Linked DNA regions of Homo sapiens: region 1 is linked to region 2. The links are contacts of gene promoters, found by promoter capture Hi-C in blood cells and fetal thymus (Javierre and others, 2016). All regions are on one chromosome and are shown on one strand. Each heading gives the region's core, a stretch centred on a gene start or on the middle of the fragment in contact. The rest is flanking DNA. Distances are from core to core; before and after follow the strand shown. Region 1 holds the start of TAS2R20 (taste 2 receptor member 20). Region 2 holds the start of PRB4 (proline rich protein BstNI subfamily 4).

Region 1 (6,276 bases), core at 1,781-4,280, 310 kb before region 2:
CAAGATCTATATGATCTCTACTTTTATGGTATTTACATTGTACCAGGTAAGATATATGATAAACAAACAAATCAGATGTGGAGATGATTTATCTTAAGGTTTAGATAATATTGTTAAAATTGCATAACACCAGAAATTAATACAGTCACACAGAATTTAGCTGTTGAACTAGGTTATACATTTTCTTCTTGTAATAGAACTTGCTATTAGTGAATATGTCAACACACTTTCTCTCATTTCATTATTTACACCAAGATTATAATAAAACATATCTTTAAGACATTTCCTATCATTAATATATAGATTTCATAGATGCCATAGTTTCTATACCCTCTTTAGATTGAGCTTCTTTTTAAAGTAAGGAAAATTTGAGCTTTTTGAGGAATTTTAAGGATGGAAGATAAAGGAGGAAATTGACAATTCAGGAGCTCAGAGGTGGCTTAGACAAAAAACTGAAATATATAACATCAGATCTCAACTTCAAAAAGGTTTTTGTTTAATTCAAAAACTGGAAGAGATGACTTTTCTAATTGCGTATGGAAACTTATAACAGCACTGAAAAGAGCTCATGATCATGTTTCTTCATCCTTTTTATAGAAATGATTTTTTCTAAGCTATTAACATACTATATTAAATATAATATTCCTCAGTATTGCTTTTGATACACATAAAAATGTACACTAGATATATTTTTCACCCTTGAATTTTATTTTGTGCATTGTTATCTAACAATAATTGTATTTGCTTTATATTAAACATAAAATAAGAATTCATCATGAATGTCTATAATCCCAGCACTTTGGGAGGCTGAGGCAGTGGATCACTTGAGGTCAAGAGTTCGAGACCAGCCTGGCCAGCATGGTGAAACCCCATCTCTACTAAAAAAAAAAAGAAAAATACAAAAAATTAGCCACGTGTGGTAGCGCATGCCTGGAGTCCCAGCCACTCAGGAGGCTGACGCATGGAAATCACTTGAACCCCAGAGGTGAACGTTGTGGTGAGCCAAGATTGTGCTACTGCATTCCAGCCTGGACAACAGGGCAAGACTCCATCTCAAAAAAAAGAAAAAAAGAATTCATGATTAAAAAAAAAACAAAAAAACCTACCCCAAAGACACATTCTCATCGATTTAGAATTAAATGTCCTTACCATCCAAAAAATTAGAGGTTCAAACAATGATAGTTAAACAGTTAAACACACTATGGTACATATACGTGATACAAATTACAACGAAAAACAGCAATGATTTTACAACGAAAAACAGCAATGATTTTCTGATATAAGCTGTCAGTTCTTAATTATAAATAGAGATCATAAATTCCTCAAATGAAATATCATATAAAAAAATGTGTGAAATACACATGGGTTCATAATTCTGAGAAATTTCTTATCCTACTTTGGTATAACTGAACAGTTTATATGAAAAGTTGATTAAAGGTATGTTATGGTAAATATTAAATTTTCATATACATTCAGACATACACACACACGCAAATGTATATTATATATATATACTTTTATATAATAAACTTAGGTAAAAGACTTTTCTATGTCAACTTTTGGAAATTACTCAAATACATAGACTACGGAAAAACTTGTGGGAAATATAAAATGTTCCAGACACCATCAATTTGTTTTCTGCTAGAAAACACACAATGCACCTCTTGTGAATCTATGGAGTTGACTGGTTCTGTCCTTTTGCCCAGCAAGTCACCTGCCACAAAACTGAAAGAAAGGTCTGCTTTAGCGTCTTGTTCCCCCAAATCAGAATGAATGAGTGGAATGATGGATATATGATTCCAAAAGCTTGGCAAAGCATTAAGACAATTTCTTTTGGTCGCATCTTAAAATTCCAAAACGATATGATTAGACACAGAAAGTAAATGGCAAGTAATATGAGGAAGGAGGTCACAGTTTGCAGAGCTTTTATGTGGATCTTGGTGCTGGGATCTTGAGATCCTTTGCCATGGAGCTGCATCTTCTTCAGATGTTTACACAGAGAGTAGATTAACAGCAGAAAAGATATCAGGGTCAGAGTGAATGGTATCAAGTTTGCTAGCATGGCTACAGTCAAGTTGGAAAGGTGCATTGCATTCCTCAGTTTGATCTTCCAAGTTACGTTTCCTTCACATTCTTCTGTCCACACATTTATATACGTGTGTTTCATCACAAGGTGACAAACCAAAAAGAACAAAGACCCCAACACTATCACCAGAACTACACTCTTAGCCTTCCTTTTTAAGTGATGAAAAATAAGTCTGGAGAAATTGACGATCTTGAGCAAATAAAATATGCTGAGGCTAGTAGCAAGCCAGATGCTGAAATGATTGGTTACTGCCCAGGCATTAGAAATAAAAATTATTACTTTTAAATTAGATGAAGTTGGATTCAACACAGTTGAATACCAATGTAATAATATTACCCAGAGCAAACCAACTCTGGAGACTGCCAGAGCAGCAATAATTTGATCAGCTGAGGAGATCTTTTGTCTCTTGACCCAGGCAATGAAATTTATCAGTGCTATAAAGCCATTGGCAAAATTTCCAAGAATAAATGCAACCACTACTAGAATGGAAAAAACAATGTGTAGAAAACTCATCATGTCTAAACAAAAAAGCAAGTAAAAAATTCAGGCCTAATGTCACTGATGGTGACTCCTCTGATATTCAAGACTTTAAGTTAAATATGCACTTGATTCCTGAATGTCCAATAACATTCTTTATACTTTTAAATTCTGTGAACAATGTCAACAGAAAAGCACCAGCTTAAACTAATGAATGAGTTCAATGCTGCCTTTATGGGAAATACTGTTAGTCCCAAAACAACTCAAATTAATTCTTATTCATAAAGTCTCTATTCTTGCTATAGGCTGAAATTTTTCATACTGATGTTGAAGGGAAAGCTGAATTCTCATTTGCTAGCATTCAAATAAAGACATATCCTCTTTCATTGCTTTGCAATTTTTTCCTTGTTTCACCTTTCCATAATTTGTGTTCAGCCCTTCAGTTGTTGGGGAAATTTTAATACCCAGTACATAGATGACACAAAAAATATATTGTTAAAAGAGCCTGGTGAAATCTAGGATCAAAATCACTATGGATTTATTTTTAAAGCCAGATTTAAATACACAGAATCTAAACTTTTTATCAAAATCACCTAAGATTTTCTTGGAAACCACAGGAAAGCCAATACTCCTTATAATTTGGTTGCTGTTAACCAATACTTCTATATGGCATCACTATTAACAAGCTCATAAACACACACACAGACACACACACACTTTCACTCTTCAAGGATGGAAGGAATTGCTTTCTTGTAACTTATGACATGGAAAATGAGTTTCCAGGAGCTCGTCCTGGTGGAATTAGTCCTATTTTTCCCATGCCAGATTTTCAGCCAATGAATAATATTCATGAAACATATCTCTCATGCTTAGGCTTTTGGTAATGCTACCTGCAAGCTTGTAAACATTCCTGAGTACCAGACCTTTGTCACATAATTTTGCAGTGTCCTCCCACCACAGGCATAGTGACAACCTTGCACTAGGGCTCTGAGTTCGATCATGTAATTTGCTTTGATGAACAGAAAATTACTACACTTTACATCGAAATTTGAGATGACCTCCACATTAGGCTTTCTTGTTCCTTTCCGGTTTATAATGAGAACATGTCCACACTAACACACTGTTCCCAGAATAAGAATGAGTAACTCATGGAATCATATGGCTCCTGCCTGATCCAGCCTTAAATCGGCCAAACTCTAACTAGATCCAAGAGGCAAAACTTGGACCATCTCAAATCACCAGAGCCATCCACCAAACCCCAGCTTAAGAAAACAGAATCCAAAAACATGTGAGATATAAATATCTAATGTGGTTTTGGAGAAGTTTCTTTTGCAGAAAAAGCTAAGTGATATAGGTACTCTGCTAATCCAAGAGTTTGAGAAATATGTGCGCCCTTGTTGTGTCAGAAATTCAGGAGCCAAAGGAAAAATAGGTTGGAAATATCAAAGTTTTTGTAATATGAGGTGAATATCTAAAACTAGAAGAAAACTTTTGGAAAGATCTGGAGGCTGTAGGTAACAGCATCTCAAATTTCTCCATTTTGCAACTAAAATAAGAATTCACTTTAGCTCTCTTGAGTTGTATAAGAATGTACGTAAATGGTGGATTTTCCCCCTAGGTATATAATGAGCAGAGCAATTAATAATTTTTACGTGACATTTCTCCCAATTTGTAATTTTTTAAATAAAATTATAATGCACACTTAGAAATGGGCCAAAACAAAAATAGGTAAGAGCAATGTATCATAAACACTTATGTAACCATCATGCAGGATAAGACATGGAACACTGCAAACAGACTAGGTCCACTTCCAGGCCACTTTCCAAGCCCCTAAACCTTTATTCACATCTCCTGAGATAAGCAATATTCATAATCTATGATGATCATTTGCTTGAATTTCTTTATACTTTACCAGCTAGGTTCACAACCCTAAACTCCACAGCTTGGTCTGTCCTGCTTTGAACTGTGTATAGGTGCAGTCCTGTGTGTTCTTCTTGTTCATGGCTTCTTGCACTAGATATCATGTTTCTGAAATTTAGTTACATAGTTGCATGTACATGTGATTCATTTCTTTTCACCTCTATATACTGTTCCACTGTATGGATTTACTGTAATCTTTCATATCATTCAATCATCCTTAGTTAATATATATTTGGGCAGTCTATTTTTGAGCTATTATGAATAATACTACTATCAGCATTATTTCACATATCATTTGATGCAATTCCTATTATGGGGTCATTAAATGTGGTGTTCAAATTATCCTCACAGACATAGAAAAGTGCAAAAAATAATTTATCTAAATTTGTTCCTGTCACCTTTACCTCCAGTCTCTTTATCGCTATTTGCATATATCTTATCAATAATATATTTAACTCAGCAAGACGCTATTATTTTATTCAGTCAACATTCATTTAGAATTATGCACATATTTATCATTTCTGTTAATTTTTATTCCTTCTTGCATGCTTAACCTTGTATTTTCAATATTTTTTATCTGAAAAATATCATTTGGATTTCTGTTTATGAAGGTCCTCTATTCTTTTGAAACACACTAAAGACATGATTCCATTGAATTCTACTTTCCATTTTTCTGTTGAAAATCAGGTTGTCATTTAGAAAGTTGTTCCTTTTAAAATAATCTATCTTTTCCTCTGGCTACTTTTCAGATTTTCTACTGGTCTTTGATGTCTTGTGACATTTTATGTTAATTTGTTTTTAGTTATCTTGTCTGACCTTTGATGGTTACTAAAAATATATGGATTAATACATTTTATCACTTTTGGGAAAATCTCCACAACATTGATTCTGCCCTATTTTATCCCTTTTAATCTTCCAGAAATCCAGAAGTATGTTAGATGCTCTGATTGTAGCATCAATGCCTCTTATCCTCTTAGCTTGGCATTCTTTGTCTTGTGGTCTCTTTAGGCTTCTTTCTTTATAGTTGTCTTCCAATTCACTAATTCTCTCTTCTATGTCTAACTGGTTGTTAACTCTGTCTATTGGATTCTCAATATTGATTATTTATTTTTTGCTATTATTGTTTTAGTAGCAGAAATTATATTTTGTTCTCCTTCTATAAATCATTATCTATGGAGAAGCAGAACAAAGCACTCTTACCACCAAGTTTTTTAAAAAAAGTTGGGTTCTTTGTTCAGTTGGTTGGCTTTGTTTTTTTGTTTTTCGTATGCTTGACATGAAAATGCTAACAATTTTCTTCTTTTCCCAAGACTTTGGTCACAAAATAGAATAAAAGCTTGGTCTACACATCCTTCCGCAAGTTGGAAGAACCTGGAAATTGATGTGATGTTAGTAGCTTTTTTTTTTAGGGGGGGATAGCAGCTTGTCTGTTGATGAGTCTTCACCACAAACTCTCCCCACAGGGAAATTCAATGAGCTGTGCTGGATCTCAAGATGCCATTCCAATAAATAAATTATAGCACCTCAACCCTAGCTACACCATTCTATTTTACAAATTAAATTTTACTCTTTTTTTATTAGCAGAAGTGGAGCTCTGTACCTTCAAACTTCTTCACTATCAGGTGAGATATAGAAGATGTGAGGGCTTACTTCTATTTGATTTATTTAGTCCTAAAATTCTCACTTTAGATGTGCCAGCAACCTGTGTGGGCTGATGACTTGGGGCAGGATGGGAGAATGCCAGGGGATAGATGCACAAAGGACTGGACACCTCCTTGCCTCCTCCCATCCTC
Region 2 (6,626 bases), core at 3,969-6,468:
TGAATTTCACAATGATAACATAGCTGATTTGACTAGATGTAATGTGATGTAAGAGGAAAAGAGAAGAGTCTAGAATAAATCCTAGTTTCCTTAATTAATTAGATGAATAATTTACCAAGACCAAATAGAGTTGGAAGAGGAGTAACTTTGTAGTTACAGGAGGGAAGAGGCAGAGGTAGGAGAAACCCGAGGAGAGAGTGGGAGGTTCCCGGAAAGATTGATAGAGTGTTCCCAAAAGAATTGTAGGATCAATGGTGTTAAACTGCCAAGGGGTCACAGGAGATGCAGGACTGATAATCGATTCCTGAAATGAGTGGAATGCAGGCAGTAGATGACCTTGACAGACTTGGAGTGGAAAGAACAAAAGCATCTTTAATGTGTGTTTAAAAAGAAAATGGAAGGGAGGGGATGGGGAAATAATCACATACATATGTTTCAAGAACTTTTGCAATAAAAATGGCAGACAAATAATAGGGTAGGAAAGAAACACTAAGAGTCTTAGCAAAACCTCTGTAAAAATGGGTGATGTTTCAGCAGGCTTTTGCTGATTGAGGTAATCCCATAGAGCATAGATGTAAGAATCAGGAGACAAAAGGGTCACATACAGAAGCAAAATCCTTGACTGGGTAATGTGGTTCAGAATCAAGAGGAAAGATAAGAGATAGGGGTAGGGAGCCTTCAACTATGATAATAGGAGAGAAGTCAGAGAACTGGGATTGAACTGAATGTGGGTTGCTCAACTTGGTGATGGTTACAGTGAGATCCTTCTATTCTGAAATTTCTGAAATTCATAGTGAATTATCTGAGGCTATCGGTGGGCACAGGGGCAGTTTTCTAATATTGAACCTTCCTTGCTTGAGAAGCAGACATGCCAATCTCTGCAAGGTTTTTGGTACATATGTTATCTGAATAGTCTCCATATTCTAAGGTAGTTGTTTTGATTCTTCTCATTGTAGATGAGGAAATTGAAGCTCTGAGAGACCAAGTAGCTTTTTAAGAGTTCAGGCTAGCAAGAAAGAGTTATGTCTTAACTAAAATCTGAGAGTGTCCCAATTCTTTGCTCCTAAAAGTCATGCTGCCTCCTTGATGAAATCCATTCAGGTTTCATTAAAGAAAGGTGAGGAACATAGGGAGGGAGGGAAGTGATCACTGTTAAAATAGGGTCAATGGGATAGAGAGGGCTCTGGGAATAAGAAGCATAGAACCCTGTTTGTTCCCTTGAAACCAAACTCAGTTTCTTAGAAATTATAAGGATTTCTTTTAGTTTCTGTGACTTATTTTCCATTTGTTGTGGTTTTTGTCCTTAAAATTACTGGAATATCAGTAAACAATCTGAAAATAATTTTAGATTTTCAATTTGTGCTGTAGAAGTCAGGGAGGAGCCAGGTGTGGTGGCTCATGCCTGTAATCCCAACACATTTGGAGGCCAAGGCAAGCGGATGACCTGAAGTCAGAATTTCTAGCCTAGCCTGGCCAACAGGGTGAAAACGCATCTCAACTAAAATTACAAAAATTACCCAGGTGTGATGGTGGGAACCTGTAATCCCAGCTACTGTGAAGGGTGAGGCAGGAGAATAGCTTGAACCCAGGAGGTGCAGGTTGCAGTTAGCCAAGATCACGCCACTGCATTCCAACCTAGGTGATAGAGCAAGACTCCATCTCAGAAAAAGAAAAAAAAATTGAAGTCAGGGAAAGAGATAAACAGCAAAACATTTTTCATGGCAGCTGGCTAAGTTAGGATTAAAGAGAAGGGAAACTCCCTGGAAGCATCAGACAGAAGGGGTCCTAGATGTTCTTATAATGTGTTCTTGGTCCTCACATTCCACATTCACAAACACTGAGAAAGAACACCACAATCAGAAATTGCAAGCTGATTATTTTATTGGTATATTAAAGTTAGAGCTATGATGACCTTGTTCCAATGTCACGGCATTTGTAGCAATTGAATTATTTGAATTCACTGATATCTTCTTATTCACTTCCTGAAATAAACAAACAAGCAAGTTCATAGATTCACTCTTTTGATGCCCTTGCACACAATGTGCTCCAAATTGTGGCTTAGAAGATGAAGAGAAAAGACCATCCTTAGGTTGCTGTGACTCATTGCTGTTGAATTTGTTCAGGGATATATTTACACAGATGGTAACTGGAACATATTCTATAATACTGAGAAGCTAAAACCACCCTCAGTGTCCAGTGACAGGGATTGGTTAACGAAATCATGGCACAGCTACACAATAGAGTAGTATAAAAATGTAAAAGCAAACAGAAAACCACTGAAGATATGTAGTGACCTTCATAAACTGATGTGGAAATTTTAAAAAAATGTATTTTTTAAATGACTAACATATATACCTGCATATAAGTTATGGCATTAGTGGTAGGGTAAAAGAATGCTATATGTCTATGCACACATAAATATTTCAAAGAAAAGATCCCATAAGGTTAACAGTGGGAGCTTTTTGAAGGAAGGAAGGTGGGTAGGATGTGTTATGCCTTTAAAATTAGCTTCATATTTTTCCATTCCATTAGATATTTTTTGTTAGCTTAATCATGTACGTATTGAAAAGTTAAGTATCTAAAAAGTGACACGCCATTTAGCTGCTGAAAGATCAGGGACCATTTGGCAGGAATACTGGACTCGAGAGGCTGGTGTGAGGCAGGACTGAGCAAATGGTGCTCAGGTGAAAACTTTAAATGGGAGGTCTCTGAGTTAGTGGATAGAAAACAGAACGCCAAGAATGAACATGGTACTACCTCCTCATTGCCAACACAATTTAAGACAGATCATATGGTATGTTGTTTCTCAACATCAGAATTCCTTAAAGATTTTGTTAGAAATACAGGGTCCCCTTACCCTATTCCAGAGTATCTGAATACAAATTTTTAGAAATGGGTTCTAGGACAATACAATGTCAATGGGTTTTAGTTGATTCATTGGCACAATAAAGTTGGAGAACTGTAGCAATTAGAGTCCTGATGAATAATAAAGTGGAATCATACCTGTCATTGAATCCTAGATTACTGGGGAGGCTGTTGTCCCTGGGCAGGTCTGGGTGGCCTGCCCCCTTGAGGAGGTGGAGGTGGCCCCTGGGGCTTTCCAGCAGGAGGTGCCTGAGGCTGCTGGGGATTGCCTCCTGCTGGGGGTGGGCCTTGTGGCTTTCCAGGAGGTGGGGGACCTTGAGGCTTGTTGCCTTCTTGTTGGGGTGGTCCTTGTGGCTTTCCTGGAGGAGATCGGGCACTTCGGGACTTGTTTCCTTCCTGTGGGGGTGGTCCTTCTGGCTTTCCTGGATGAGGTGGGGGACCTTGGGACTGGTTACCTCCTTGTGGGGGTGGTCTTTCTGGCTTTCCTGGAGGAGGTGGGGGACGGTGGGACTGGTTGCCTCCTTGTGGGGGTGGTCTTTCTGGCTTTCCTGGAGGAGGTGGGGTACCTTGGGACTGGTTTCCTCCTTGTGGGGGTGGTCTTTCTGGCTTTCCTGGATGAGGTGGGGGACCTTGGGACTGGTTGCCTCCTTGTGGGGGTCGTCCTTCTGGCTTTCCTGGAGGAGGTGGGGGACCTTGGGACTGGTTTCCTCCTTGTGGGGGTGGTCCTTGTGGCTTTCCTGGAGGAGGTGGGGGACGTTGGGGCTGGTTTCCTCCTTGTGGGCGTCGTCCTTCTGGCTTTCCTGGAGGAGGTGGGGGACATACGGCATTCACTGAATAGTTGCCACAAATTTTTACAGTAATGGAGCTAAATGGGGAAATGCACAAAAATGAGACCCAGATACTAATTTCTTTGCATTTTCAGTGAAGCCCTAGAACTCTGGAGTGGAACGCTGGGGGAAAAGGGAGAAGTTGAGGGGCTCTCAGTCTAAGGAGGAGTCAGAATAAGGACACTGGCCATTTGTCTGTCATCTCCCAGGAGGCACTCCTGGCCAGGGGGATGTCAACCCACTCCTGTTGTCATCTAAGCCAAGCATCTCTGACATTCCATTTGGTGGCCTGCTCATGGTCCCCAGAATCAAGTTTGCATGAAGATTGCCTATATCATTAGGGGCAATAACATTAATCAATTCCTGAAAGGAAAGTGTTGATAAGAAGACACTGGAGAAATGATCCATTTGTAAGCAGAAAAAGGGAGTCAAAACAGATTGAGAATGAATTGGGATTTACCTGATATTAGGAAGAGAGATTCTTCCTGGCTGACATCTAGAAGAGAAGCACAGGATGATGGGAAATGTTACATCTCAAATCTTCAAGACTCACAAGTGTTCTACAGGGAAAATTGTCTTCTCACCACACCCCATGCATCCCCTAGGTTAACTCATCAGCCACCATCTGTGAAGGTGCTGGAAGGGGTGGAAGGTGTAAGAGGAGGCAGGGTTGTTACCACACAGAGCAACAGCAATGAGTTCAACATAGAACAGCCCCTTTTTTTCCTCCCTAGCATCCCTCAAGACTTAATGCTTATTTAGTTTATGCATGCCAGGTACTTCAATGTGATATTTTGGTGTTCTTATGCCCTCCATCTCCTGTTAATATATTGCATACATACACATGTTTTCTCAATAGGGGTAACCAGAAGTAATCATTTCAATACAATCTAACCCATTCCACTCCCAGCACATTGAAATACTGCATGTAGGGGAGAGAAAAATTGTAATGATTGGCTCTGATATTTCTACATCTTTAGTTAGACAGAGACAAGTGTTCTATCCAGTTCTGTCTCTGCAGTATCTCTGATGTGTATGTATCTCTATCATCAATGCCGACTGTCTGTACAGCAAGGCCACCATCATCCCTGTGTACTTACTGGGATCAGTATAGGATCTTCACAGCTGGACTTCCCTGAATCTGCCTTGCACTCTCCACTGCAGCCTTCACAGCACAGTTCTATCTCTATAAATTCAAATCTTACCTTCTCATTCCCCTGGAACAAATTCGTTATTGGATTTCATTGTACATTAAATAAATTAGAAGTCCTTATTGTGGAATGAGGGCACAACAGGTCTCCTGATCCTAGGCATGAAAACTCTGCAGCCCCATCTGTGTTTTCATTCTCCTCTCTTCCCCATAATTACCACTGTCACCTCCTAAGTCCCAAGCAGTCACCGCATCTTTTCCCCCTTCTGTTTTACCTTCACTTGAACTCTCAGCTGAGCTCAGGGCCAGCAGGGCCACTGACAGCAGAATCAGCAGCATCTCGCTGGAGGCTCTGGAGTCACTCCCAACTCTGTGCTGGGAGGAACGTGGCAACTCCCTTTATAAAGAGGAGCAAAACAATGGCACCTTTGAGCCCTGGGTGGGCCTCACCACCTCAGAGACTGGGTTCTGCTTTCCTTACTGCAGGTCAGGTGTATCCCTTATTTCTCTTTGGGACTCTAGCCCAGAGGGATGGGGTGGGTTGGATGTTGTTTGTGCCTTATTTCTAAAAGGTACGACTATGACTTGAATAAAGGTTCTAAAGGAACTGTGTCCAAGCTATCAGCACTGTGTCATAATTGAACTTCAGACATCATTAGAGTTTCAATCCTTTTGGTAAGACTATGTCTGCTTTCCACTCTACTATTTATTTCTGTGTAATATTTGTGGGGGCAGTGAAGCTACAGCCAGCAGTGAAGATGGTCAATTTCTCTGGCTCTTTATAGAGCCTATTTCCATCTCTTGTGATGTGTGTGTACAGATAGTATCACAATTGGCTAAAGTTTTGATGCGATAGAGATGGTTTCTGTTACCTGTGTGATGGTGTGAAGACAACACACTCCTGGGCACACATAGATGACAGAAAGCTGCCCCACAGCCTGCTCGGGCTACAACTATTGTTCAAGCTTCTGTGGATCTGACTCAGCTCAGGCAAGGCTTGTTGTTGTGCCACACAGGAAGGCCAAAATTGTGTATTTTAAAGTACCTTTAGGGGTTATTAATGCAAAATGTACACAGAAACCATAAGGAAATTTCTAGATCTGAGAAAACTGAATACATAATTCCTTGCGGGAGCCATGCGATATCATGTTGCCAAAACTTCCTTCATGCTCTTCCCTTTGTCCAGAATATTCTATAATATTCACCCTCTGCTTCATTTCTTTTAATAATTGTATTGAATTCCTACCACTTATAATTAAGTGGCTACAATTCTACATTCAAATAGGATAATCAGATACCCTCGTTAAAGCCTAAATTGCATTATATTGGTATTCTTGGTTTAGTCAGTATTTGTGTTACCTGTTTTCTCAGATTGTTCTTCCACAAAGAGTATTTTTCTATAATATTCTGATATGCATTCCTCCCCACCTTCTTTCTGGTTCTTCTTTGTTCATATTTTATTTTCTGAGTCAAGCCCATTATGTGTATTTTTCTTTATGTATCTGGCTTTTTTCCCCATGAATTTGGTGAGATTTCCTTTATTTAATCTTCTAAGTATTAGGATATAGTACTTACCATCTTTGTTTCATTCTTGTCTGTGTAATTTCATAATACGTGTTGTGTTTCCAAAAAGCCCTATCAGAGACCTGCATTGTTAGCACTTCTTTCAGCTACTGATTCTTCGTTATATCTGATAAATACCTGCTTATCAGTTCATGGAATATACAGGTTACTCAGTATCAACAGCTGCCATTTACCACTTAGACCTTCCATGTGTCTTGTGT

What was found. Contacts are between HindIII fragments. The CHiCAGO score rates a contact against its expected background, and 5 or more counts as called.
Region 1: a contact is called between the fragment with the promoter of TAS2R20 here and the fragment with the promoter of PRB4 in region 2, in 4 of 17 cell types (total CD8 T cells, naive B cells, activated CD4 T cells and 1 more). The highest score is 6.9, in total CD8 T cells.

Annotation. Positions count from the first base shown.
Region 1 is chr12:10,995,274-11,001,549 of GRCh38, forward strand. TAS2R20 (taste 2 receptor member 20) reads right to left here and starts at 3,031. Exons shown (of 1, transcript NM_176889.4): 1 at 688-3,031. The coding sequence starts at 2,602. The coding sequence ends at 1,673. All of the region lies in intron 3 of PRH1-TAS2R14 (PRH1-TAS2R14 readthrough), which reads right to left. The region is part of intron 3 of PRH1-PRR4 (PRH1-PRR4 readthrough); the gene reads right to left. It also overlaps a transcript of PRH1 not described here. The HindIII fragment of the contact is 1,654 bases long and covers 1,805-3,458 here.
Region 2 is chr12:11,305,218-11,311,843 of GRCh38, forward strand. It overlaps PRB4 (proline rich protein BstNI subfamily 4), which reads right to left and starts at 5,219. Exons shown (of 4, transcript NM_002723.6): 1 at 5,118-5,219; 2 at 4,153-4,188; 3 at 3,004-3,665; 4 at 1,860-1,982. The coding sequence starts at 5,181. The coding sequence ends at 3,022. The HindIII fragment of the contact is 5,809 bases long and covers 1-5,805 here.